6 separate regions of the Homo sapiens genome follow, and regions 1, 2, 4, 5 and 6 are each linked to region 3. The links are contacts of gene promoters, found by promoter capture Hi-C in blood cells and fetal thymus (Javierre and others, 2016). All regions are on one chromosome and are shown on one strand. Each heading gives the region's core, a stretch centred on a gene start or on the middle of the fragment in contact. The rest is flanking DNA. Distances are from core to core; before and after follow the strand shown.

Region 1 (4,294 bases), core at 1,649-4,148, 260 kb after region 3:
GAAGACACAACTGCAGAAATCTGGCAGCCTGTCCCTGTGCTTTCTCCTTCTCTATGAAGCTGTTCCCAGGACCACGACTTCCACCGAGCCCATCTCCTAGAAATCCCTTTGTTCACATGCCCTGGAGAGAGTTGTGCTTTGTTATTTAAATTGTGCAAGGTGGAAGTGCAAGGAAGAAAAGCAATGGTGATTATATGAATGAGAGTAGATACTAGTTAGTAAAAAGCAAGATACTGTATTTATGTATAAGGTTAAATAGTTTTAAAAAATTATCCATAAGAAACCTTTAAAATTCCTTGGAATCTTTGTCATTTCTATTTTATCAAAATTACAGTATAAACTAGTAACTGAAGTTTATATTATGAATTATTGCAAACATACACAAAGTTATGGAGAAAAATACAAGGAACATTCATGTGTCTACTGCATATCTTTACCAAGTCTCTCCCTGTTACCTCAGATTTTCTTTAAGTGACAGAACATTGCAGGTAGAGTGAAGATGCCTTGGTAATCCTTCCCTTTCCTCTCTCCCAGAAATGACCATTATCCTGGATTTCGATTTATTGTTTTAAAGCATGTATAACCTTACATTGAATAGTGTCTTGCCTTTTATAAAGCATTTTACCTCTTTCGTTTGATCTTCACAACTCTTGAAGTATTTACTTCACTTCTAAATATGTATAACCCACCAAATTATCCCAATTTCACTTAATACAAAGCTATAAAGTATGAAGTGAATTAGTGTTTCATGATTTACAGTGTATCATCTCATTAGAAATAGAGTCCTGAGGCATGTGTGTGAAAACTTCACACCCCGCTTTGTTCCTCGATTTAATTTAAAGTACGAGTAATTACTCGTACTTTTAAAAGTATAAAGTATAAAGCACTTTGGGAAGCTGAGGTGGTAGCATCTCTTGAGCCTAGGGCTTTGAGACCAGCCTGGGTAATAGAGCAAGACCTCCATCTCAAAAAACACACACACACACAGCAGTAGGAGAACTGGAAGGAACCACACACACACACACACACACACACACACAGCAGTAGGAGGACTCGAAGGAACCTCAAAGGGTTAAATAGTCTTTAACTCCCTGATTTTAGTGAAACCGCCTTAAAACCAACTCAAAGGTAAGTTTTCTGTTCATTTCAAAGGACATAATTGAGGAAGGAAGAGCTGTCTACCCTGAGTAATGTTTTCTGGAATGACAAATGAGTAAAGAAATCATGGAGATATCTTATCTCATAATTCTTTAAAAATTAAATAACCATGGAGTTTGCATATAATTTTAAAAATTTAAAGCAAATTCCCACTCCAGTTCCTCCTGACCAATTTTTCCAGCTATTTGAGCAGTATTTTTTGCTCCTTGGAAGGGGATATAGTGCTTATCCTGTTTATTCAAGTAAAATTTAAAAAAAAGATAAAACTTTCTCCCCTTAAAAAAAAAAGTCTAGAGCTGGTAAAAATTTCTGACTCAGTAATTTTGGAAAGAATTGCCTCTTTCCACAAATAGATGAGCTTACATACTAGGTCTTCCAAGTGGACTAGTAAATTTCCGTGATGTCAGGAAACTGGGTGGAGTTTTTATGGATGCAAGTCCAGTGGAGGAGGGACTTTTCAGGTCATGTATAAGGAGAGTAGGATCAGATTCTGGTTTTGAATAACCTATAAGCCACAAAGCATGGGGATTTCCCATTGGGTTAATCTAGTGCTGGCCACAGTTTAGGCATATGATCTAGAGTAGCTGCTGCAATTAAGAGATGCTTGCTTATGGGATCTTTGCCCTTTTATTGGAAGGCTGTAAGTGTAGCCCAGCCTTGATTTATAAACCAACTTGACATAATCACTATTTCTTTTCACACAGACTTCTGAATAGCTGTCACTAAATTTTGATTACCACCAGGCATTTAGTTAAGCTAGAGCTGAACTATTTGATCTGTTAGTTTTTATTGGGCACTGCAGCCCACACTGATCTTCCCCTGTTCTAAAGCCCTGCTTGTATCAGAAAGGTCCACCCAGGCTAATTGTTTATATGCTAATTGTTTATATGGGTTAGTCTTAACTCTTTTTTCGACAATTTTATAGGATCTTAGCATGCTCATATCATGTCTCCTACTATTTGGGTCTCTTCCTACTGTCATATTGCTTGGTACATTGATAGGTGCTAGTACCTAAAGCCTTACCTAAAGCCGATGAAACTGTTAGCTTAGTTGGCTTCTTCCAGGTTTGTCTTTATTTGGTCACCCTGAAAGCCTAAGTGTCTTGCAAATACTATCTACTAGGTTTGTTGAATATCTCATTTTGTTTTCTATAATCAATAACAATGTAAGCTTGGATGCAATTTTTTAAAAGTACTTTAAAAACCTTAACTCTCAGTTTGGATACTTGTCCCCTAGCTGACAGAAATACCTTGGCAAAGTAGCTAAAGTCAGCCCTGAAGCTGAAATCAGCTGAGGCTGGATAGTTTAAATCATGCTTTTCCTCTTCTCAAAAGATGATAGGGACCAAATCAAAATCTCAACAGTAATTTAAATTGAACTTTCCAAGTAGATTTCTAGAATTCATATGAAAAAGTATAATAATTTGGAGGATAAAAAAGGAAAAAGAGTAGGGGCCTGCCCAAATAGATGTCAAAATACAGACAGTCCCTGACTTATGAATTTTCAACTTTAGGTTGGGTTTATTGGGATATAAGACCATCGAGGAGGTCATTATGATTTCTACTGAATGTGCCTCATTTTCGGACCATCATAAAGTGGAAAAATTGTAAGTTGGGGAATGTCTGCTCTGCTGCCACTATTAAATGCACTTTCGACTTAGTGATGTTTTCAAATTAGGATTGGTTTATTGGGATGTAGCCCCATTGAAAGTCAAGGAGCATCTTTTTATTATAGAGCTGTGAAAATAAAATAGTTGGTTTAGCTGTGATAATAAATGTTTAAATAGTTTAAAGGAACAGAGTCTCAAAATGGACTGTTTCTGGTGCAAAAGCTCTATGCTTATATTCATGCTTCTAAGTCTTAGTACACATTTTTTCCCTTAGTTTTAAAAAAATGTTTGCAGGCTGGGCTTGGTGGCTCACGCCTGTAATCCCACCACTTTGGGAGGCCGAGGCGGGTGGATCACCTGAGGTCAGGCGTTCAAGACCACCCTGGCCAACATGGTGAAACCCTGTCTGTACGAAAAAATACAAAAATTAGCCGGGCGTGGTGGTGGGCACCTGTAATCCCAACTACTCAGGAGGCTGAGGCAGGGAGAATTACTTGAACCCAGGAGGCAGAAGTTTCAGCGAGCTAAAAAAAAAAAAATTTTTTTTTTTTTTTTTGCTACATTCTTAAGTGTGACTCTCTTTAGCTTTGTGAAACCTTGAGGTGGTTGTTTTTCCACACGGTTTATAATGAAAGAGATGAGAAAAATACAATTTTTTATAAAGAGCTTGATGCTTTCTAGAACAACATACTCTAAAAAGGGAAGCTTACACATTTAAAAAATAAAAGTCTGATGAAAGACCATATAGCTGAGGGTTCTGAGCTTAGGGAGACAGGTTCCAATTACTGGCTGTAGGTCTTTGGGATGATGACTTAACTAAGCCTACTTCCTTATTTGTAAATGTGGGAAGCGCCTACTTTATAGAACTGTAAAGATCAAAGAACAGCATGCGTGCCAAACCTTTAGTACTGTAGCTAACACAGAAGTGTTTGATAAAAGTTACCCATGGTTATTATTTTTACTAAAAAGACCTTTAAAAGTACTATGAAGGGTTTCTGTTTCTAAATTCTAAGATATATAGTAGTCATGAACATTTCAGAAAGGCAATGTTATTTTCAAATCAGTTTCACAGTTTTCTTGAGGCGGATAAGCAGTTCTTCCCTTAGCAAAATAAGAACTTTTGATTATGCAATGAAAGAGAATCAAAGTCAGTACTGATTCCAGCTACCTTTTCTTTATTTTCTGTGAGAAATTGAGCAAGTTACTTGCCACAGTGATGTTTTTCATTTTTATAGAGAATAAAAAATAAATGAATTAGGTTTGAATTTCAGTGGGAAATAATTAGGTTAGATGTAAGAACGCTCTGATTGTAAGGCTGCCAAGCAGATGAGAGGGACTCCTTTGTCACCATTAGGAGACTGTGCCAGAGGAGCTTTTTCTTTTGGGCCTCTTGAGGCTACTTCAGGCGTCCTGGGAACCCATCTAGATGCACCTTAAACCTGGACTTCAACCCTGACTCCTGTGATGGCATCTTCGCCAGGATGACATGGTAAGGTGGTGATAAGGACGGAGATAAGACTGGCTGCC
Region 2 (4,172 bases), core at 1,150-3,649, 390 kb after region 3:
AATGAAAACTTTTATTCGTACTTACTCAATTTTAATTCCTTTGAGGCATCTGGGTTGTTAGGGGGAGGTAGAGCCTAGGATGACCCCCAGATTTCTCTTTGAACTGCCTGGGTTGATCGTGGCACCAGTAAACAGGGTAGGGAATAAGTGATAAAGACTGGGTTTGGGTTGGAAGAGGTAAGGAGTTTTGTAATTTAGGGCATCTGTGGCCTGGGAAGGGAGTGGTGTTTGTGAAATGTTGGATACAAGGTTTTATGCATGGCTTACAACCTGCCCTCTGTTCCCTGCTTTATTTTCCAGCCTTTCCCACTGCAGCATATGCTTCAGCCGCATCTGACCGCTCTCTCTCAGTTCTCACTGGTCATTCCCTCTGGCTGGAACACCTTTGTGCCCCTCCCCTTCTGTCACCCAGGCAACTCCTATTTGAACATCTTTGGTGACAGAGCACTCACTATCAGCAAATGGTGTGGCATTAGTGATTTAGAAAGTGGGCTCTGGAGCCAGCCTGAGTTTTAACCCCAGCTCCATCCTGTACCTGGTGTGACCTTGCCATTAACTCAGTTTCCTAGGACAATGGAGATACTAGAACATCCCATAGAGCTGTTAAGATTAAATGAGTTATACGTTTAAAGCACTTTAAACAGACTGTGACACATAAAGTATTCTCTAAATCTTTGCTATTATTGTTAACTACTATCTTATATGACAGTTCATATCATGTTCTATTTAAACAAAAATTTAAAGGATTTATTGTAATGGAACTTTTACCAAATAGTGCCAATTTGAAACAATGATTGTTCTAATCTTTTCTAAATCTTATCATAAAAACAGCTGTTTCAAATAATTTTTATCAGGCTTTCCCCCTACTTTTTAACCTTTAAATCACTTTTGTGGCATGCCATAATCTGTAGCCTACTCATTGTTTATGCCCGTATTGGATTTATTTTTTGCTTAAGCATGATATTTGAGGATATAGATTATTTCCAATTTTTTATTATTTTGGTGGACATGCTTGACAAGCTTCTTCCTATGAGTTAATTGCTTGGGATTTTCCTAAAAAGTGAAATTTATTTTATTTTTGTACTTTTCACTATAAATTTCTCCAAGTGTTCTTTAAAATGTTTCTATAATCTATTATAACCTTATGTATCTGTTAACCATTATAAGCACTAACATAAGAAATTTAAGAATGTATGCATAATTATTTAAATGTCTTTTTAAAGTTTTGAATATAAGTTACGATATACCAAAAAACTTAATAAGGTGAAAACAATATTGCAAGGGGGCATGAGGATTAATTTTTTCTAATAGATGTAAATTACTATAATTTTAAAAATTGACTTGGAAATATGTTAAGTCATAGACCTAGTTAATCCTAAAATAGAGCAACCTGTTCGTTTTTTCATGTAGTACATACAATTTAGTTCCTGAGAAAAATAATCTATTAATAATAAAGTCATGAAATAAACAAAATTGGTGATATCTTTTCAATGGAATACCATTCCCCTTTCATATTTTAGCATATTTAAAGAGCATTTTATAGCACAATTATAACTATTATAGATGTCAATATAAGAAATTTAATGACTTATTTATAATGATCCAAATGTCCTTTTTAAAAATCTTTGAATTAGAGCACAGAAAATTCTATACTATCCATTGCACTGGTTACTTGAGAAGCTGGCCTCCAAATATTGTTGGAATGGAAGAAGAAAGGAACAGTAAGAAAGACAACAGTAATTTTACCTGCCTTGTGGCCATTGGAAGATTACAGCCATATATTGTTCCACAGAACAGTGGAGAGATTAATGTGAAACCAACTGAATTTATAACCCGGTTTGCAGTGAATGGAAAATTTGTCTATGTAGATCAAAGGTAAACATTTACATGTTATAATGATTAGAATTCAATGGGATATTTGAAGCTATTAAAGGCGTGTCTTAGTAGCACTGCTAGTTTTTCTTTTTCTTTTTTCTGTTTCAGAACAGAAAATAAAGTTTAAATGAAATAAGAATATGGACATGTCAGTAAATTTGCTTAAGCCAACATGTAAACTTGGAAGAGTGTCTCTTAGCCAGTGGTGCAGAAACTGGGCATGATCTGTGGCCACGATTTTACTGGCAAAAGCTAGTAGGAGCACAGCCTGGATCGGGTGGAGGCTTCATGCCTGGGTGCCTGTTCTGTGTTGCAGCTCTAGTCTGGGTCTAGGGCAGCCGAGGGGAGCCCAGTGATATGCATGGGTCACTCATCCCCTACCCTGTGCACTTCTTTACGATCCTGACCATATGTGGGCCTACAGTCTTCTGGGAGGGAGTACACTCACCACTTCTGAAGTTTATTTTCAATTTTGAAACCAGGGCAACAGCGATTTTAGGATATCTGCCTCAGGAACTTTTGGGAACTTCTTGTTATGAATATTTTCATCAAGATGACCACAATAATTTGACTGACAAGCACAAAGCAGGTAGGTATGCATTGAGCAGAATACATTTTGGGGAATTTAAAATGACAGTTTTAACTCTTAATTTCCCATTCCTGTGAAATTTGAAGTTTGAATTAATCTTCACAACATTGATTTTTATAGTCATTGACTATTATGCTGATAATTATCTTTTCTCGTTAAGTTCTACAGAGTAAGGAGAAAATACTTACAGATTCCTACAAATTCAGAGCAAAAGATGGCTCTTTTGTAACTTTAAAAAGCCAATGGTTTAGTTTCACAAATCCTTGGACAAAAGAACTGGAATATATTGTATCTGTCAACACTTTAGTTTTGTAAGTAATTTTTTATGTTAAGACCTTTATATTGATTTCAAATGAGTCTCTTTGCTTTTCTCCTCTCATCTTGCTAAACCATTAAAACTGTGTGATCCTCTGGCCTTTTATTGTAACTTGAGATTTATCTTTTGAGTAATTCATTTACTGTTCATTGACATTAGTTCTCAGAATTAAGCTAAAAGTTTTCATTTCTGTAATACATTCCTTCTTACTTGATATAATATGTGAGGGTAAAGGCATTTATTCAAGCATTTTCTTCCTACCCTCCATGGCCATTCAGTAAACAATGCAGACGTGGATTTCTACTGTGCATTATTGTAAGAAATTGTTTTGTCCTCCCTGTCATTTTTACCTGCACATCTTATAAGCCTGGGGTGCCGCCATGTCTGTGTAGGCATGCTCAGCACGGGGGAGAACAGAAATCCAGCCCAGGTGTTGCTTTAGCAAGCTCTGGTCTGTAGCTGTGTCAGCCTGAAGGAAGAGTCAAGTTTTCCTGATTTTATAGGAGGCTAGGATGGCCCCGTTGTAAGTCTTACTTTTTTTCTGTAAGTTTCTCTTTGAAATTGCTGTAAGGTTTCCTTGAACCAGTTATTTCCTTGTCTACAATACTGAGAGAAAAATAATAAAAAAAAAAAAAGTTTAATACTTCCAGTATTTCCTGTCACCCATCCCAGTAGTCTTTGCCTACTTATTATTAGTACAGGAACTGAGAGTTTGTTATTGTGAGAACACATACTTTATAGAGGAATGGGGCATTTGGCAAACACCATGATACTTAGCACATTAAGACCTTGATTTCTGGTGGTGATACTAACAATATGTGTATATAAAACATAAATGGGCCACAAATTGACAAATTAAATATACAGATCTTAGTGTAGTTGCTATAACAGTTTCCTTCACCTTAGAAAGTAAATCACCTATGGTGTTTTTAATTCTAGGGGACATAGTGAGCCTGGAGAAGCATCATTTTTACCTTGTAGCTCTCAATCATCAGAAGGTAAGCTTACTTTTAGATGATGGAAGACTTATTACTAAGACATATTATTAAGACTATTACTATCTTTTTCTGTCCTGGAGAGGGGAAAATTTGAAGGTGAAATTAAAAGTAGTTCTGCAGGTTGGGTTATAGGAATCCCAACTTTGGTTTAGAAGAGACTAAATTCAACGGGAAATAGATATCCCATTTAAACTCCCAGAGGTATCACCATGTCCCCCTCAAAATTCCCACAGTGCTTTGCTCACTTTTCTGTTATAATCTTGCATTATACTGCAATTAGTTGTTCATTCAACTTGCTTTCCAGTAGACAGTTCTTTAAGGCAGGAATGATGTTTTATCCATTTTTCAGCCCTAGCAGCTAACATTGTTCCTTGTCAATTGTGACACTCTTGGA
Region 3 (4,549 bases), core at 259-2,758:
TAATCCCAGCTACTCTGGAGGCTGAGGCAGGAGAATTGCTTGAACCCGGGTGTCGGAGGTTGCAGTCAGCCAAGATCATGCCACTGCACTCCAGCCTAGGCGACAGAGCGAGACTCCGTCAAAAAAAAAAAAAAAAAAAGTCACCTGAAATCATCAAAAATGGTGTACTCATAGGGAGCCAAGCCCGGGCATGTTGCTTCTTGGCTCCCACAGGTGAATTTGAAGTGGCAATAGAACTTCGTTGATTCTTGTTTTTCTCATTTTAGTTTTACTCTCTATTAAATTGTTATTTTTTACAGTTCATTTATGGATGACAAGTTATTTCCTGTTGGTAGCTGCAATGATTGGGAATTTTGTGATCTCTGTAAACGAATTAATATCTCATAGAGATCTATTTCCTGTTGGATATGAGACAACAGAGAACACAGTTTTTGTCCATTTGTCTTTTTTAAGGTCAAATCGATTAGAAATTTCTTGCCCTCAAGTAAGGAGAACAACTCTGATACCTGGACTGGCAAGCTTTTGTGTTTCTGTGTTTATTTTTCATTTGTGGCTGAACTTGTAGAATTGAGGGTATACACATTCTATCTGTATGTCTATGTATCTGTAATTCAGAAAGTCCTTTATTTCTCATTGTGAGTATGGAATGTTTTCCTGTCTCCAGATGGTATTAATAAATTAGATGGTAAAGGCTCTTTAAAAATAAAGCCTCATTATGGGTTCATTTTCCCTCTCAAACTCTGTAGAACATAACCAGTTTGAAAAGCCTCTAGATTTGGGGGTGTAAAAATTCCATGCAGCTTGAGAGCCATCAGTCATTAAGCCGCTAGTTCCACCCCAAGTCTTGCTGTCCAGAAGCTCAGACAGTCCACTGGGCAGCAAAGAGGCGCTTTAGTAAGTTGAATTAAAGCCACAAACATGGCTGCTCCCTAAGGGAGATAATACTGTGTTAAAAAAAGAGAATTATTTATCTCTTCCCATTTCCTCCGCTAAATGAGGAGGTTAATAGTAAGACCTCCTTAGCCATGAGTGTTTCCGCTGCAGGAAACACCATTCGTGCCGGTTCTGGACTCACCACCCAGCGTGTACCAACGCCCCCAGCACCATCTCCCTGCTAGGCTGACAGACCCCTGGCGGATTTTGACCTCGCAAGAAATGCAAAAGCAACTTTGGGTTGCAGAAGCCAGGCGCCCCGACCTTACCCTCGCTGGAATTCCCGAAGACCTCGGCTGCACCAGCCACCCGGTGTTCGGATGCCAGCACCGCTACGACCAGCAGCTGCAGGAACCCCATTGCTGCCTGGGCCGGGCTGGGCCCACGCCAGGGCTGGGGAGAGGTGCGGGCGTGCGCGCCGGGGCCCCGCAGCCTCGCCCACGCTATCCCGGGGCGCCCGCATCGGGCGCCATCGCCCGCCAGGTGCAGACGCTTCGCACCTGCCAGCTCCGCAGCCGCCGGCGCGCGCCCCGCCGAACTCCTAGCCCCAGCGAGAGGTTTCCTCTTCCGGCACCTGACCCCCAACGCGCGTTCCCGCGCCTCCTCCCGGGCTCTCGCTGCGTCACAGCGGCGGGTCTCTGGGCGCGGGCGGCGCTGGGGCGTTTCCAGGCAGCGCGCGCCTCCTGCCGGCGCGCGGGGAACGCGCAGCCTGCGGTGCTCCCGGGAGCCCCCAGGAAGTCCTGGCTTGAGGCCCGGTCTTGCCCCACTTTTATCTCACCAAGTAGGCAAACCCACTGTGAAAGTACAAAATAACTTTCTGTTGCGGACTAACGTCGCCAGGCTCCTGTTTCCGTGTTTAACGGCCCTTTACAACAGCAAAAAAGAGGAATCAGTTGCTAAAAACACAATTGAAGGTTATTTCCCCCGGTAGCAATTGTCTTCGCTGCTGAGGCTTATGTTAGCATAAAAATGCCAGGAGAATGCTGTTTGTGTAGTGGTTACCGCACTAGTCATAAGCACTACATTTAAAAGTAGTTTCGTTTTCTCTAAGCGAAATATCCTCGAAGACACGGCCTTGGTCTGAACTTCGTCTCAAGTCTCATACCTGAGTGCTGTTTGAGGGACAGTAGTCCATGTGACAGATGGCTCATCGATGATGTGGAATTAGACGCATAGACTTAACGTTATTTGGGGAGGATTGTCTTGCTTTCCTTCCCTGGTTTTAATTTTTTTCACTTATATATTTTGATGAGCAACTTATAGCTTGGAAATTACATGTTCAGTTAGTCCACTACTAAGCTAACAATATATAGCTGTGACCATAATGTGAAGAAGTGTTAAAGACAAAATTATTCAATGATACTTGTTAAAGCACCGAACGAAGACTATTGAGGACTGTCTCAATTGGCATAGGGACCACTGCAACTGGGTCTTGCAGTGGGGAAGAGGGACTGGGCTCAACTCCGAATACAGCGTGGGCAAGAGGGAATTTATAGCCAACCAGCAGTATGGAGTTCAGTGGATGGAAAATTACTAAGAGGAAGCATCAGAGGTAAGGGGCATTTGGTGAAACTGACCTAACAGGACTTCTGAAGACATAACATCACCTGGGGGATGGTGCAGGGTGAGAAAACTGATTAGATATGGAGGAAAGGGGGTTCTTTGCTAAAACTGGATTTTTACAAAGAAGTGCACAGATGGACCTAGCAGAAGATTCAGAAGCCGTACTAGAGTTTGGCCAAGCAAATAATCTTTGTCATAGGCACAATTCTTTCTCTGCTTTCCCACTGCCTGGTCCAAATTTTCACACCTTTGGTAGCACTATCTATTTCTGTAGTGCTTATTCACTCTCCCACATGCCCCTATTCCTATAACCCTCAGTAGATGAAATCCAAGGAAGATGAAAGGGACAATTATGATAAGGGTAGCATCTGAATCAGTGGATGGATTATTCAATAAATTGTGTTCTTAACTGATTAGCTGCACTATGGGCAGAGAGAAGCAGAACTCTATCTCACACTAATTGTGAAAACAAAATCCCAAAGTAATAAAACCATAAAAGAGCTAGCAGAAGAGGGCGCTCTTTTTTTTTTTTAATAAATTGATCTCAAAATGGGAGGAGCTTTCTAAGAAGCAAAACAGCAAAGGAAACAACCATAAAGGAAAAGATTGGTAGACTTGGCTACGTAAATGCTTTTTACATAAATATTTAAATTTTATTAAAGTAAACACACAAACAATATGAAAAGGCAAGTTGACCAAAAAAAAAAAATTAGCAAAGGACATGAATGGGGAATTTCACCCCAAAAAAGAAATACAAATTACCAGTAAATACATGAAAAAAGTTCAATCTCACTAGTAAACAAATAAAAAAATCAAATTAACAAACTAAGATGTAAACATTTTAAAAGTATAAAACATCCAGTGTGGATAAAAGAGCTAAGAAGGAGGCATTCTTAGGTAGGGATACTGGGAATATACACTTTAATAAAGTAATCGGCATCAAAAATGTTTAAAAATCTTATTTTTGTAGATTTGGTATAATCCACTTTTAGATTTAAGTACATAATTAAATACACATATAAAAATTAGTATAAGCTGGGGGAAGTGGTATGCGCCTGTAGTCCCAGATACTCAGGGGGCTGAGGCAGGAGGATTACTTGAGCCCAGGAGTTCAAGAGGGCAGTGCTGTATGATTGCACCTGTGAATAGCCACTGCCCTCCAGCCTGGGCAACATAGTGAGACCCCATCTCTTAAAAAAAAATAGTGTACAGAACTATTCATAGAGTATTATTTAGAGTAGCAGAAACATCTAAAACAACCTAAATGCCCAACAATTAGGAGTTAAATAACCTATGATAGAGCTTTATAAGAGGATCCTGTGCAGCCCTTCATTTATATTCTGATTGAAGTCTTTATGAAAAGGCAAGTTATGATGCAATAAGTATATATAGTACGTGGCTTTTTTTTTTTTTTAACATACATCTTTTATTGACTCAGAGGAATGGATACTTTTGTTGTTTGTTTGTTTTTTTAAATGGAGTCTTGTTCTGTCCCCCAGGCTAGAGTGCAGTGGTGCAATCTTGGCTCACTGCAACCTCTGCCTCCCGGGTTCAAGCAATTCTCCTGCCTCCGCCTCCCAAGTAGCTGGGATTACAGGCACACACCACCATGCCCGGCTAATTTTTGTATTTTTTTTTAGTAGAGATGGGGTTTCACCACGTTGGCCAGGCTGGTTTGGAAATCCTGACCTTGTGATCTGCCCACCTCGGCCTCCTGAAGTGCTGGGATTACAGGCGTGAGCCACCACACCCGGCCTGTAATTTTTTTTTAAGAGACAAGATCTCACTATGTTACCCAGGCTGGCCTTAAACTCCCAGATGTAAGAATTAAAGAAGAAAGAAACAGGAAAGGTGGCTTAGAAGTCAAGGACAAGTTTATTTTAGAGAAAACAAACCTGAAAGGGGCTTCTGGCCAGTTAGGTTAGAGGCACACTCTCTTACGGACTAATAAGAGTTTTTAAGGATTTAGGGTGGGAGAGTTTATCAGAGGCTTGGACTGCTTCTGTGTCTGTTGTGCTTATCTGGGAGGGAGAGTTGTGTGTCTGTTCCCATA
Region 4 (4,305 bases), core at 1,563-4,062, 360 kb after region 3:
CATATATATATAAATAACATGAAATTTGCCATTTGAACCACTATTAAGTGTACAATTAATTGGCATCAATTACATTCAGTATTGTAGACCATCACCTCTATTTCTAAAACTTTTAAATCACCCCAAAGAAGAACTCTGTGTCCATAAACAATAGCATTCCCATTCTCCTCTCTCCTGATCCCCTGCTAACCTCTAGTATATTTTCTGGCTCTATGAATTTGCTTATTCTAGCAAATTGCCACTATTTCACGTAAGTGGGAGTCCAAGGTGGGTGGACTGCCTGAGCTTAGGAGTTTGCAACCAGCCTGGGCAACATGGTGAAACCCCATCTCTACTAAAAATACAAAAAAATTAGCCAGGCATGGCGGCATGCGCCTGTAGTCCCAGCTACTTGAGAGGCTGAGGCAGGAGAATTGCTTGAACCTAGGAAGTGGAGGTTGCAGTGAGCCAAGGTCGTGCCACTGCACTCCAGCCTGGGTGACAGAGAGAGACTCTATCTCAAAAAAAAAAAAAAAAAGGTGGAATTATATGATGTTTGTTCTTTTGTGTCTGACTTATTTCACTTAGCATAATGTCTTCAAGTTTCATCCATATTATAGTATGTGTCAGAATTTCATTCCTGTTTATGGCTGAATAATATTCCACTGTGTGTATACACCATATTTGATTTATCCAGTCCTCTGTTGATGGGTTATTTCCACTTTTTGGCTATTGTGAGTAATGCTACTATGAACATTGATGTACAAATACCCGTTTTAGTCCTTGCTTTCCATTCTTTCAGATACATGCCTAGGAGAGAGTTGCTGGGTTATATGAGAATTCTGTTTAGTTTTTGAGGAACTGCTATACTGTTTTCCACAGTGGCTGTATCATGTTACATTCCCATGAGTAGTGTACAAGAGTTCCATTTTCTTCATCCTCACTGATACTTATTATTATTTTTTTTTATTTTTTATTTTTTGAGACGGAGTCTCGCTGTGTCACCCAGGCTGGAGTGCAGTGGCGTGATCTCGGCTCACTGCAAGCTCTGCCTCCTGAGTTCACGCCATTCTCCTACCTCAGCCTCCCAAGTAGCTGGGACTACAGGCGCCCACCACCACACCTGGCTAATTTTTTGTATTATTAGTAGAGACGGGATTTGACCGTATTAGCCAGGATGGTCTCGATCTCCTGACCTCGTGATCTGCCCACCTCGGCCTCCCAAAGTGCTGGGATTACAGGCGTGAGCCACTGCGCCCAGCCAATACTTATTATTTTCAATTGCTTGATTATAGCCATCCTGGTAGGAGGGAGTGGTACAGTCTTACAATTTTCAAAGAATCACCCTGGAAACAGCATGGAGGATGAGCTGAAAGAAGAAGACCCAGCAGGCAGAGAGAACAACAGAGAATAGCTTTTGCCAAGGACGAGGTTTTCTGAGCATCGATCAAAGAGAGTGGCCCTGGACAGGAAGGGCAGGGAAAGGAAGGGACATATGACACACTTAGAAGATAGGATCAATAGGACTTCATGATTGTTCACTGGGGAGAGGATATAAAGTGTGCCCACGTTTTCTGACTTGGGCTCCTAGATGGAGGGTGGTATTTTCATTCACTTAGATTGAGGCAAAAATGATGAGTTCAGTTCTGGACACACTAAGAATGGGATATTTATAGAACCTTCAAACAGGAAGTTGGAAATGAGGATTTGGAGCTCAGGGTAGAGGCCTGGCCTGGAGTTAGAGACTCAGACATCATTAATGCACAAAAAGTACTTGAACTGATGATGTGGGTGCCATCACTGGGAGAAGCTGATGGAGTGGGGAGACTGGGGGCTGAGGATATACTCTGGGGGTGCTGACCTAAAGATAGTACAAGATGAGGGGAAGCCTGCCCAGAATATGTGAAGGCATGGCTCTGAAGTGGGAGCGGCACACAGAAATCAAAGGAAGCACGTTCCAAAAAGAGGAATGCCTGAAAAATGGCAGATCTGGGGAATATTTTGAGATTGCATCTGCGTCTAACTTTGTCTTTGGTTGATTTAGAAAGAATGCCTACATTTCATTCAAAATGCAGTGAAAATAGTTTTCAAGAAAACTGCATTGTATTTTGAAATTCTATTACTGTAATGTAAGGTTCTACACTAAGAAAATGTAGCCCAGTAATGTGACCATTATTAATATCAGAAAGCTTATTAAAACACATTTGTAAAAATTTGTAAAATATTAGGATTATAGACCAAATTTACTAACTATCTAGATTTGTGCTACAAACAAAGAAATGAATTGTTTGACTAAGAAGATCTTGCCTTTGTTCTATTCTGCCAGGGGCCATTAAATAGAAGGGTATTTGCATTTAGTAAGTACAGTACATTTGAATTTCACCAAGGAGGCAAATTCACTCAGTGAGTTCATTTGCTAAAATGCCAATGATCAAAGCAAAGACATGATTTTAAAAGGTCAAAGTTTACCTTTTGAAATTGAAGTAATGTATATATACATACATATATATAGTCAGTCCTTCATATCCATGGGCAACCAACCAAAAGTTGAAAATATCCAGAAAAAAAAAAGCAAGTCTGTATTGGACATATCCAAACTAATTTTTCTTGTTATTATTCTCTAAACAATACCATATAACAACAATTTACATAGCATTTACATTTATTAGGTATTGTAAGTAATCTAGAGATGATTTAAAGTATATGGGAGGATGTGCATAGGTTGTATGCAAATACTGTGAAGAGACTTGAACATCCACAGGTTTTGGTATCTGCAGAAGGCTCTGGAGCCAGTCCCCCATGGATGCTGAGGGACAATTATATATAATTCCAGACTATTAGGAAGAAAATTATTCATCTGTATAATTGTTTTCTGATTATTCCTTTAAGATGGCTAAAAAGAGAAAAGGGAAAAGAAGCTGACTTAATCTGACCCTCTCTTTTGCCTCAGAGAGGCTGTTTAATTTTATTTGTACCAACCACACAACAGGCTGACGGTGGTGAGAGAAATGGCCAGGTATGGTGGAAGGCGCACCAGCCTGCATTGAGTAGTCTTCACTTGGCCTCCACTGGTTATAGGACCTTGCACAGTCATTAACTTTACTCAACTCCTTCATCTGTAAAATGGGGGTAGTAATAACTTCACCACTGTGCTGTGAGAATCAAGTGTGGAAATATTTTTGATAAAGTACCATAAATATAAAAGCTCTTCTTGATTGAAACTGTGAAGAGGAAAAGCACCACTTGATTAAGCATTTGTCTTCGTGGTCTTTTTTATTTGGAATATTTATAAGCATCTATTTATAAATTTGATTAAATTTTCTATAAGTGTTATCTTTTTTTAAGTAGAAAAATACTAAAACCTCAAAAGAGTTCAACTGAATAAGACAGTTCTAAAGTAGGCCAGCCTTTCTTCAAAGCCTGAAAAATATTCATTGTTAAAAATCTGTAAAGAGGGAAATTTGTTAAGATGAATCAGAAGCTTTAAAATATTTATCCATAAATTGTACTTCTAGGAATTTATCCTAGAGTATAATTCAAGATGCACACACCACAATATTATTAGCCATATTATTTATGATATTGAAAATATTAGAATGTTGAAATATCCAACAATAACAAATGAATAAATTATAACTAATCAGTGGGCTACTATTTAATCATTTCAAATTATGTTATCCAAGAATATTTGAAACTACGCAGAAATATTCATGTTAGAGTGTTAAATGAATAAGACAAGACATGAAAATTATATACTATGATCTGAGTTTTATTTATTATACATGTAGAACACACAGAAATATCTACATGGTACCCATGCACCATGGCTAAGCTAAATAATCATTGTATGTATCTACATGTTTAGGAAATGCTGGAAGGAGACACATTAGAATATTAACTGTGATTACTTCCAGGTGGCATTATGGGTGCTTTTCCTGGAATTTTTCAAATCTCCCACAAAACGATACATTTGGAAATAAATCTTTTAAGATTACATATTTTTAAAAGCTATGCAGCCTGCATGATTTTTAAATGCTGACAGTCTTCTATCACTACCAACGTATTTCATTTTAGTAATCGTCTGCTGAGTACATTTCTGATGCTAGGAACTATACTAATGTGAAAATTAATATTATTGGTAAGAGTTTCCAGTTTTCAATATTGGTTACCATCCAGGTGGATTTTTAGGCAAAATAAATTCCTTTTGATTAAAGGTCTGGGATTCTTAATCCATTTTCAGGCTGTTTTAATACAGCTATCATAAAGTTTTTGGTTAAGCCATCAATGATGTTAATAACTTTAATGTTAATTCTATGAAAATCTTAT
Region 5 (4,155 bases), core at 988-3,487, 300 kb after region 3:
GTGTTTACAACAGTTAAAACTGTTAAAACTTTTAAAATTCCTTGAAAATAAAAGAATGTCTGCAGGTGCCTTTTTTAGTGGGATAATGTCCCACTAAACTCTAAAAGAATATATTTCGTTTCCAGGTGCACTTATTCTGATTTTTTTGCAGTTTGACATTTTCCTCAGCAGTTAATTCTAGAAGTTGAGTGGTAGATATTACTTCATTATCAGCTCTTTTGTGATTTGATTTCACATGGTCTCTGCCTTAAAACCATTAAAAGTCATGAAACTTCTGCTATGCAATAGCACTTTTATTTGTCCCAAGATGTGGTTAGAAATATACTGGGTAGATCATAAAATGCAAACTCAGGAAAGCTAGCTGGGCATGGTGGCTCATGCCTGTAATCCCAGTACTTTGGGAGGCCAAGGCAGGCAGATAGCTTGAAACCAGGAGTTTGAGACCAGCCTGGCCAACATGGCAAAACCCCATCTCTACTAAAAATACAAAAATTAGCTGGGTGTGGTGGTGCACACCTGTAATCTCAGCTACTTGGGTGGCTGAGGCATGAAAACTGTTTGAACCCAGGAGGCGGAGGTTGCAGTGAGCCATGATCACACCACTGCACTCCAACCCAGGCAACAGAGTGAGACTCTGTCTCCAAAAAAAAAAAAAAAAAAGTAAAAAAAGCAGGAAAGCTTTTACAAGGTATTCCACCTTTGAGGCATTTTCAATAATAATATATTTGACTATCCTTTATTTAGGTGACATGATGACATTGCTAATGAAGAAAGACACCTTGACAGAAGAGGAAACACAGTTCTACATTTCAGAGACTGTTCTGGCAATAGATGCGATCCACCAGTTGGGTTTCATCCATCGGGATATTAAGCCAGACAACCTTTTATTGGATGCCAAGGCATGTGAATAAACTGGTGAATTACTAGGCTGTTGATTATTTTTTAGAGCAGTAGGGCTGATTTTGTGAATGGAAATCAGCAACTGCAATTTAGAATATTGCTAAACAACATTATATGATAAGGTACTAGGAGAGGACTTGGGAATTAAATGACAACAGGGAATATGGCTCTCTTTTTATCTCCCTCCATTTTCTACTTTTAAAAATCATCATCAGATACTTAAAATTTTACATTTTACGTGTATAAATCCCAAGCTAAGAATTTTTATTATAATTGCCATTTAATAGAGGAGTTTATAACAAGGCTTTTTGTTTTCAAAGTTAATATGATCTAATTTTACTGGATTTTTTTTTAGGGTCATGTAAAATTATCTGATTTTGGTTTATGTACGGGATTAAAGAAAGCTCACAGGACTGAATTTTATAGAAATCTCACACACAACCCACCAAGTGACTTCTGTAAGTTTGGTTGTTGTTTTTCTTCTTTCCCCTGGTTAAGATACTGTAGAGAACAGAAGGTTCTTTCCCTTTCCCCACTCCTTAATCCACTGTGTTTTAGATGTATATGTATTTTCTTTTTGTGGAGAGCATTTTTCCCTCGTGATTACAATTCCATATTGTTGAAATTAGCATTTCAGAACATGAACTCAAAGAGGAAAGCAGAAACTTGGAAGAAGAACAGGAGACAACTGGTGAGTCAACCAGTTTTTAAGAGAATTTTATGCCTTGGTTCTAAAATCTTACCTGGTTTTAACTTGATTATTTTTATCTTTATAATAATTAGTATTTACTTCATAACAATGGTAGCGCTTGCTCTGGGATCACACAGTTTTCTTAGTTTCTCTGTTAAGTTTCCTTGCCTGTAAAGCAAAGTGTTGGTTTTTACTTTGTAACTTTAGAGTAGTTTACTGAGCATACCTACAAGTAAGCTGTTTACTAGTAATTAGCACTTTAAATAAAACTCACTGAGGTGAATGCAATTGTAATGAATGCCTTGTGATTTCCATTTTTCCATTTTTCATAACTGTGTTACAAATCCTGATACAACAAATATCAATCAGCAAGTAAGGTGGTTGTGAGTTTCTAAAAACTTCTTTATAGACAAAGTAAACAGGAAGTTTGGGATGTAAACAGTGTTACAATAAAACAGATAAAATTTGAAAAAGCTGGCTTTGCCACAGATAAATTTAATTACTCCTTTAATATAGAATTACATTATTTTTAACCCCATACTATTTCCTTTCTATAACTGAGCAAATAGAAGAATTGCTTCCCCTTTCTCCTCTTTCCCTTTGTCCTGTTAACATGGTCCATCAACAGTCTACAGGTTAAGAATGTGCCTTAGGATTTTCTTTTTCTCATTTCTTATAAAATGCCTGGCACATACGGACACTCTATAAATACTTGTTCAACCAAATGATGAAAGGAAAACTAATTCAGCATTCCCTCAGGAAAGTAAACAGACTGAAAAATAATAGGCTAATACCCTCTAAAACCAAATAAAATGACCTTTGCATTATTGAGCTTATTATCTCATTAACCTAAGTAACTGCAAAAACTTGTAAAACATTTCAGTATTTTTAAATGTATTGAGTTACACATTAAGGAGAAAAACTTTGTTCTACTTTTAAAATGTGTCCATTTTAGATCAGGTTTTGCAATTGAGAATAATTGCAATATTCCCTATTTTTAAAGGGGAAAAACTGAATACTGCTCAAAATTATGGTGGGGGAATTCTGTACCCCCCTATTTACAAAATATTCATGGGTGATTACTCAGGTGTGTGTTTTATTATTCTCATGGCCAGTAGTTGCCAAGCCTTAGATCGAGTGTTTCCCAAGGGAGAAGTAGAGAGGACTCAGTGTTTGGGGCAGGAAATTTCTTTAGCACCTGGATCCCCTGCCCTGTAAATGCCAGTTATGTCACTGAGATGACAAAATCTGTGGTCCTACATTTTGCCATGGCCCCAAGAGTACTACCCCTGGTTGAGAATTACTGCCTTGTAGAAATCATTTTTGTAAGATTTTATATGAATTAAGAATTAAAAACTGCATAGCTTCCTAAAGGATAAGCAGTACCCTGGAATTACATTTATAATGAAAATACCTCATGCTTATTTTTGTAGTTTGTAGTTTACAAAACACATGCCGTTTATTGTTTCATCTTCATATCAACTCTATTAGGGCAGGTATTATTATTCTAGTTTTATGTAAGCAGAAGCTGAGCCTCAGAGAAATTGAATAATTTGCCCAAGAACACATTAGTAGTGAGTGGGGAAGCCAGGTCTTCTAGGTTCAACTTTTTCATTCTTTTTGAAATAGACTGAAGGCTATATATATAAATAACTTAACTGAGCTTCTTGTGGGGGCAGAAATGATATATTCTTATAAAATGCCTGGCACATATGGACACTCTATAAATATTTGTTCAACTAAGTGATGAAAGGAAAACTAATTCAGCATTCCCTCAGGAAAGTAAATAGACTGAAAAATAGTAGTCTATAACATATTATCTGACTCACTACCTACCACTAAGCCTTGCACATGATAAACATGCAAAATAAATACAAGTGAAAATTTAACTCCTCTATATATTGCTTTTTCCAGTAGTAAGCCATCCTCAGATAGATATTTTTTAAATGTTAAGAATGCTGGTTTGACGAGTTGCTCCTTTGTAGGCATATTCCACAGTTGGGACACCAGATTACATTGCTCCAGAAGTATTCATGCAGACTGGTTACAACAAATTGTGTGACTGGTGGTCTTTGGGAGTGATTATGTATGAAATGCTAATAGGTATGTTTTATCATTCATTTATGTACAAAATATATACATTTCCTTGAGTGCCATTGTTTGAACATATTACAGATATCATTGACTAAAATATTTGAAGTCTTTTAAGCTTAATTCTGATGTTCCCCCAATGTTAAATACATACTGATCAATACCAGTGAGCTCCCCACGGATCCTGTTTCAGGAAGGTGGGTATTTAACCCAAACTCCCACGTATAAAAGTGGTTATCTACATAGCTTTTCAGGTAAAAGGGGAGGCAGTGCTTTCAATCCTTTATTTTATTGACTTTATTAGCAACGTGATTGTAAATTGATGAATGGTGGCATTTTTGACTGTTAAATAGAGCACTCAGGGTTGTTTGGTTTCTTGTCGCACATGTTTGGTGGGTATAAACTTCACTGCTCACAAAGCTGATGAAACATTTTTGATTTATTTGATACATAGGATATCCACCTTTCTGCTC
Region 6 (4,474 bases), core at 1,583-4,082, 280 kb after region 3:
TGAGCCACTGTGCCTGGCATTCTTTGACCTTTCTGCATCTGATCCTGAAACATAGAACATGAGCCCAATGATTCTGAAATTTCCAAAAATGATTTGGCAGCATTGTTTTAGCAATTCAGTAAGAGCAGCTTAATCCATAAAAATCACTTGGCCATGATAATTCTTGAGTTTATTTTTCATTATTTATTGTTTTAAAAAATAATGCTCATTATTATTAAAGCATTTAGCACAATACAAAGATTAAACTAGGTGCCTAGAATAGTATCTTACATTTGTATAAGCCATTGTGGCTTTCCTGTGTATTATCTCAGATGGCCTTAGAACTAGGCCTGTGAACCAGGCAGAGCAAATATTTTAAGCCCTGTTTTGGGAAAAGTGACTTGAGTTAAGGGTGTTCTGGTGATTTGAATAAGACCATATGATCAGTTAGCAACAAGGCTGGGATTAGATCTTTTAATTTCTGACTTCTACCTTCTGTAATTTCTTTTTCCACAGTTGCTTATTAGCCAATCTTTACAGAGCACTTTACTATTGGCTAATTCTTTCAACTACTGTTACTGCGCCCCCTCCCTCCCCCCAATCAATAGGTTGTCTCATTCATTCATTCATGACTACTCTGAGTCAGATGCAGTGCTGTTGTGAGTTTTGAAAAATGAATCAGAAAGAGTTCTTACATGGAGATGTTCCTGGTTTGGTGGAGTAACTGTTAGGGCCGAATTTTTCTTAGGAGTGATAAGCCACCAGTACCTGACTACAAATGTTAGAGAACATGCACCAAAAAAATGAGAAATGCTTTGCCTCTTCTGCAGAGCATGTTAGAGAAGTCACCACAGCAGTAAGACTTCAGCTAAACTGGGCCATAAAGGATCAGCAGATTCCTGCAGAGACATATCCTGCAGTGGATATAACTGCTTCAGGGATAGGTCATGGAAGAGCTTGGAGGCATGAAAGAGCTAGGTATGTTGGGAAAAGAATGAGTGGTGAGGAAGAGCATCAGATAAGGATAGAAAATATAAAAAGCAACAGATAAGGATAGCAAGTTGGAATCCTGACTCCACATCACACTAGCTATGTGACTTGCCCCAAACTTCAGTTCCCTACTTTGCAGGGCTGTCGTGAGGATGAAATGCAATCATGCATGGCAAGTGCCTCTATCTTAAATCCTCAGGAGAAAAAAAGGGGGAAATCAGTGAATAAAATATCATAAAGTTCCTGATATATAACCATACTCAGTGTATGTGAGTTGTTCTTATTGATCATATGTAGCTAATTTGACTTGCAGTAGGCAATGAGGAACCATGACTGATTCTAAACAAGTGACACGATCAGCTTCTCATTTAAAGTAGTCAGCAGAGGAACAAATTTATGCCAAAATAATAGATGCAGTTTTAGACATAGTGATTCTGAGGCTCAAGCAGTACATTGAGGTATAAACCCCTAATAGGACAACAGTAGAACTGGGAGTTTGCCATAGATAATTGTTTGCTTTCAACCTACACTTGACTTGCTTGACATCTTTTGGTTCATTCCATCAACCCTGGAATCTAGTCCACTTCAGGTCCACATCCAGGGCTCTGTATCTTCTTTACTTAAAGCAAGATGGATGTTGTGGCATAGGTGGCAGGTTTGGGGAACACTTTTCAACTAAGAATGCTTTGGATGGTCACTCTTGGCAAGCTGGATCTTCTTTGGACTGGTCTGTTACGATCTTCATCTAGATAAGCAAAGCCTCTTTAATGTATGAACTCTTCTAGTCTTTTTATCCAGATGTGGCTGTAGTAGGCAAGTCTCTTAGGGTCAGTGGCCACCTGCCGCAGCCATCGGAGTTCAGTCTTCCCCCCGTCAAGTGGCCATTTTGCCACACTCCTTATCTAATAGTCCAGATTATTTTCTTTGAAACGGTACTTTGTTTGCGTGGCCCAGTGATCTCTAAAAGTTGGCACTGGAATGCCTTTAAGCAGACATACATTGTCCACTTAAGGCCACAAAGCTTCCCTGTTGTTACCTGGCTTCATTCATACATTTCTGTTTCCTTCTTGGTTCCTATAGGCATCTGAATTTCATTTGAAAATGAAATGGGCTGCACAGTCTGGAGAAGTGTACTATACCTTGTTATAGCACGTTTTGGAATGACCCAGAATTCAGAATGAAATGGGCAGCTATGAGCCCCATCCAAAGGTGCCTGTTTCTAAAAGTAGTTTCCCCCTACAATATACGTGAACGTTGCTTTAGGCTGGTGTTTATATGCATATTTGATACAACACTTCATGTTTCATAGAATTCATAAGGCAGAAGCTACTTCTTACTATTAAACTAAACTGCATTAACTCTTAGGAGACTGACATTTATCAGGGACATAGCTATTAGCACTATCTTATAGATTTTATTTAGTAATGAAACAACAAAATAGCTGGAACTTTTCTTGTTTTGAATGCTTGTTGAATGTGACCTTTGTATATAAATGTGTCTATATTATATATGGATGCCACTGGTTCTTCTTTGCTGTCATTAACTCCTGGTTTTGCCACCACAATATGAATTTCTCTTGCTTTGGAAATAGTGCTTTTCTTTCTTCCCTAGCTTTGTATTATTTATAATGTGAAATACTTGGATGTGTTAACTGTTAGGGTCGAATTTTTCTTAGTTGAAATTGAACATTTTCAGAGTTTATTATAAAAGATAGGGGTTTTTTTTCCCACTGAATAATTTGTTTTTCTATGTTGTTTCAGTTTCCGTTACTATGGCAATGACGGCAGGGACTACAACAACCTTTCCTATGAGCAACCATACCCGGGAAAGAGTGACTGTAGCCAAGCTCACATTGGAGAATTTTTATAGCAACCTAATTTTACAGCATGAAGAGAGAGAAACCAGGTATAGTAAGGGCTAATCAAAACTTTTTTTAGTTAAATAAGCTGTTGTGCTGTGAGTGGAATAGAAACTTGTTTACCATGAATGATATGAATATTATGGATCCCTGCATGCTGTTTTTGAGTTTCCTGTACTGACAGTGCACATAGACATGTGTTTTATTTTCACAGAGTAGTTTCCTGAGGTGCCCCAAGTCTTGTGCATCTATATACCCGTATGACATGCCAATTAACGTTTTAAACAAACCTTTTCCAAACATGAAATTATGATATGTCTTTACATTTTCTTTTAAAGGGATGCCTGGCTTGGTGTGGTGTGGCTCATGCCTATAATCCCAGCACTTTGGGAAGCCGAGGTGGGCAGATCACCTGAGGTCAGGAGTTCAAGACCAGCCTGGCCAACATGGTGAAACCCCATCTCTACTGAAAATACAAAAAATTAGCCGGGTGTGGTGGCGGGTGCCTGTAATCCCAGCTACTCAGGAGGCTGAGGCAGGAGAATTGCTTGAAGGCAGCAGTGAGCCAAGGCTGCAGTGAGCCAAGATCACACCACTGCACTCCAGCCTGGGCAACAGAGTGAGACTTTGTCTCAAAAAAAAAGATGCTTTATGAATGACTGACTTTAATCCAAAAGCATTTACAGTGCATATCAGGGGGAATAGAAGAATAAAAAAAAGAATGACATGTTATTTTGACTTTAGAAAACTTATACTAAAGGAGATAACACACATAAATATATAAATGAAAGAGTGAAGAATATTAAGTACAAGGAAGGGAGAATGTGCTTTTGTCTAGGCAACTGGGAAAGCTTTGTAAATAGTGGTGGCATTTAAACAGGGCTCTAAAGGAGAAGAACTATTTATACATGCATAAAAGGAAGGAGACAGAGGCAAAAGAGCAGGAGGGAAGGATATTAGAGACAGAAGAAATCACCAGGTCAGGCAGTGTCCAATTTCGCTCAAGCACAGGATGTGCTAGATTCCAACATCCTGGGAGCCTTGGATTCTTTGTTAATGTAGCTCTTTTCATGGTAGTGGAGAGCCTTGGATGTTTTTGAGCAGAAGAATCAAATGAAAACAAGTGTTTCTCTAGAAAGGAACTTTAGTTGTGATACAGAGAATGGTTTGGGGTCAGGGTGGGGAATTAGAAACAGGAAAGTCTAGTGATGTAGTCCAGGTAAATGGAAAGGAGGCTTGAATTAGAATTGTGACAACAACAACAGAGAACTGACAAGTAAGAAAGATTGACAAAATGTGGCTACTAGCAAAATATGAAATGTGAGGGAAATAAGTCAATGTTGCCTCTGAAATTTCATGCCTGGGCAAACTGAGAGTGGTACAGTTTAAATGAAATAGAGAGGAAAAGTCTCATTTAATTTTGGACGGATTTAACTGCAGATTAGATACAGGTATGGTGAGAATTAGTGAACTGGAAAATAATTATTCAGAAATCAACTTAAAATAGGAATATGTGAAAGAGAGTTGAGAAACATGGAGAATCATGAGAAGACTTGACATATCTCTAAAAGTTCTGAAAGGGAGGAAAGGAATGAAAATAGAGCAGAGGCAAACAAACAAAAAAAGAGTTAGCATCAGCAGAAATTC

Evidence for each region. The method cuts DNA at HindIII sites, captures the fragments that hold promoters and counts their contacts. A CHiCAGO score of 5 or more calls a contact.
Region 1: a fragment that was not itself captured here is called in contact with the fragment with the promoter of TM7SF3 in region 3 in 16 of 17 cell types (M2 macrophages, monocytes, M1 macrophages and 13 more); the score reaches 12.6 in M2 macrophages.
Region 2: a contact is called between a fragment that was not itself captured here and the fragment with the promoter of TM7SF3 in region 3, in 1 of 17 cell types (endothelial precursors). The highest score is 5.3, in endothelial precursors.
Region 4: a contact is called between a fragment that was not itself captured here and the fragment with the promoter of TM7SF3 in region 3, in 1 of 17 cell types (M2 macrophages). The highest score is 6.6, in M2 macrophages.
Region 5: a contact is called between a fragment that was not itself captured here and the fragment with the promoter of TM7SF3 in region 3, in 16 of 17 cell types (M2 macrophages, monocytes, naive CD4 T cells and 13 more). The highest score is 13.8, in M2 macrophages.
Region 6: a fragment that was not itself captured here is called in contact with the fragment with the promoter of TM7SF3 in region 3 in 17 of 17 cell types (M2 macrophages, naive CD8 T cells, monocytes and 14 more); the score reaches 21.3 in M2 macrophages.

What each region holds. Positions count from the first base shown.
Region 1 is chr12:27,276,383-27,280,676 of GRCh38, forward strand. The region is part of intron 1 of STK38L (serine/threonine kinase 38 like); the gene reads left to right. LOC124902905 (a long non-coding RNA gene) reads right to left here. Exons shown (of 3, transcript XR_007063254.1): 3 at 4,266-4,294. Among named protein-coding and RNA genes, the nearest start is that of STK38L, 34 kb to the left of the region's middle. RefSeq lists an enhancer at 1,723-1,772 and a silencer at 3,490-3,690. The HindIII fragment of the contact is 1,144 bases long and covers 2,327-3,470 here.
Region 2 is chr12:27,398,900-27,403,071 of GRCh38, forward strand. It overlaps BMAL2 (basic helix-loop-helix ARNT like 2), which reads left to right. Exons shown (of 17, transcript NM_020183.6): 10 at 1,635-1,875; 11 at 2,358-2,464; 12 at 2,625-2,775; 13 at 3,720-3,778. The region is part of intron 1 of BMAL2-AS1 (BMAL2 antisense RNA 1); the gene reads right to left. Among named protein-coding and RNA genes, the nearest start is that of BMAL2-AS1, 46 kb to the right of the region's middle. The HindIII fragment of the contact is 2,763 bases long and covers 1,019-3,781 here.
Region 3 is chr12:27,012,876-27,017,424 of GRCh38, forward strand. TM7SF3 (transmembrane 7 superfamily member 3) reads right to left here and starts at 1,509. Exons shown (of 12, transcript NM_016551.3): 1 at 1,203-1,509. The coding sequence starts at 1,293. RefSeq lists a silencer at 1,202-1,701. The HindIII fragment of the contact is 5,016 bases long and covers 518-4,549 here.
Region 4 is chr12:27,371,731-27,376,035 of GRCh38, forward strand. All of the region lies in intron 3 of BMAL2 (basic helix-loop-helix ARNT like 2), which reads left to right. Among named protein-coding and RNA genes, the nearest start is that of BMAL2, 41 kb to the left of the region's middle. The HindIII fragment of the contact is 1,292 bases long and covers 2,167-3,458 here.
Region 5 is chr12:27,313,760-27,317,914 of GRCh38, forward strand. It overlaps STK38L (serine/threonine kinase 38 like), which reads left to right. Exons shown (of 14, transcript NM_015000.4): 7 at 745-899; 8 at 1,256-1,358; 9 at 1,530-1,591; 10 at 3,577-3,694; 11 at 4,137-4,155. Among named protein-coding and RNA genes, the nearest start is that of BMAL2, 17 kb to the right of the region's middle. The HindIII fragment of the contact is 3,122 bases long and covers 677-3,798 here.
Region 6 is chr12:27,294,981-27,299,454 of GRCh38, forward strand. It overlaps STK38L (serine/threonine kinase 38 like), which reads left to right. Exons shown (of 14, transcript NM_015000.4): 2 at 2,730-2,874. The coding sequence starts at 2,741. Among named protein-coding and RNA genes, the nearest start is that of BMAL2, 36 kb to the right of the region's middle. The HindIII fragment of the contact is 1,688 bases long and covers 1,989-3,676 here.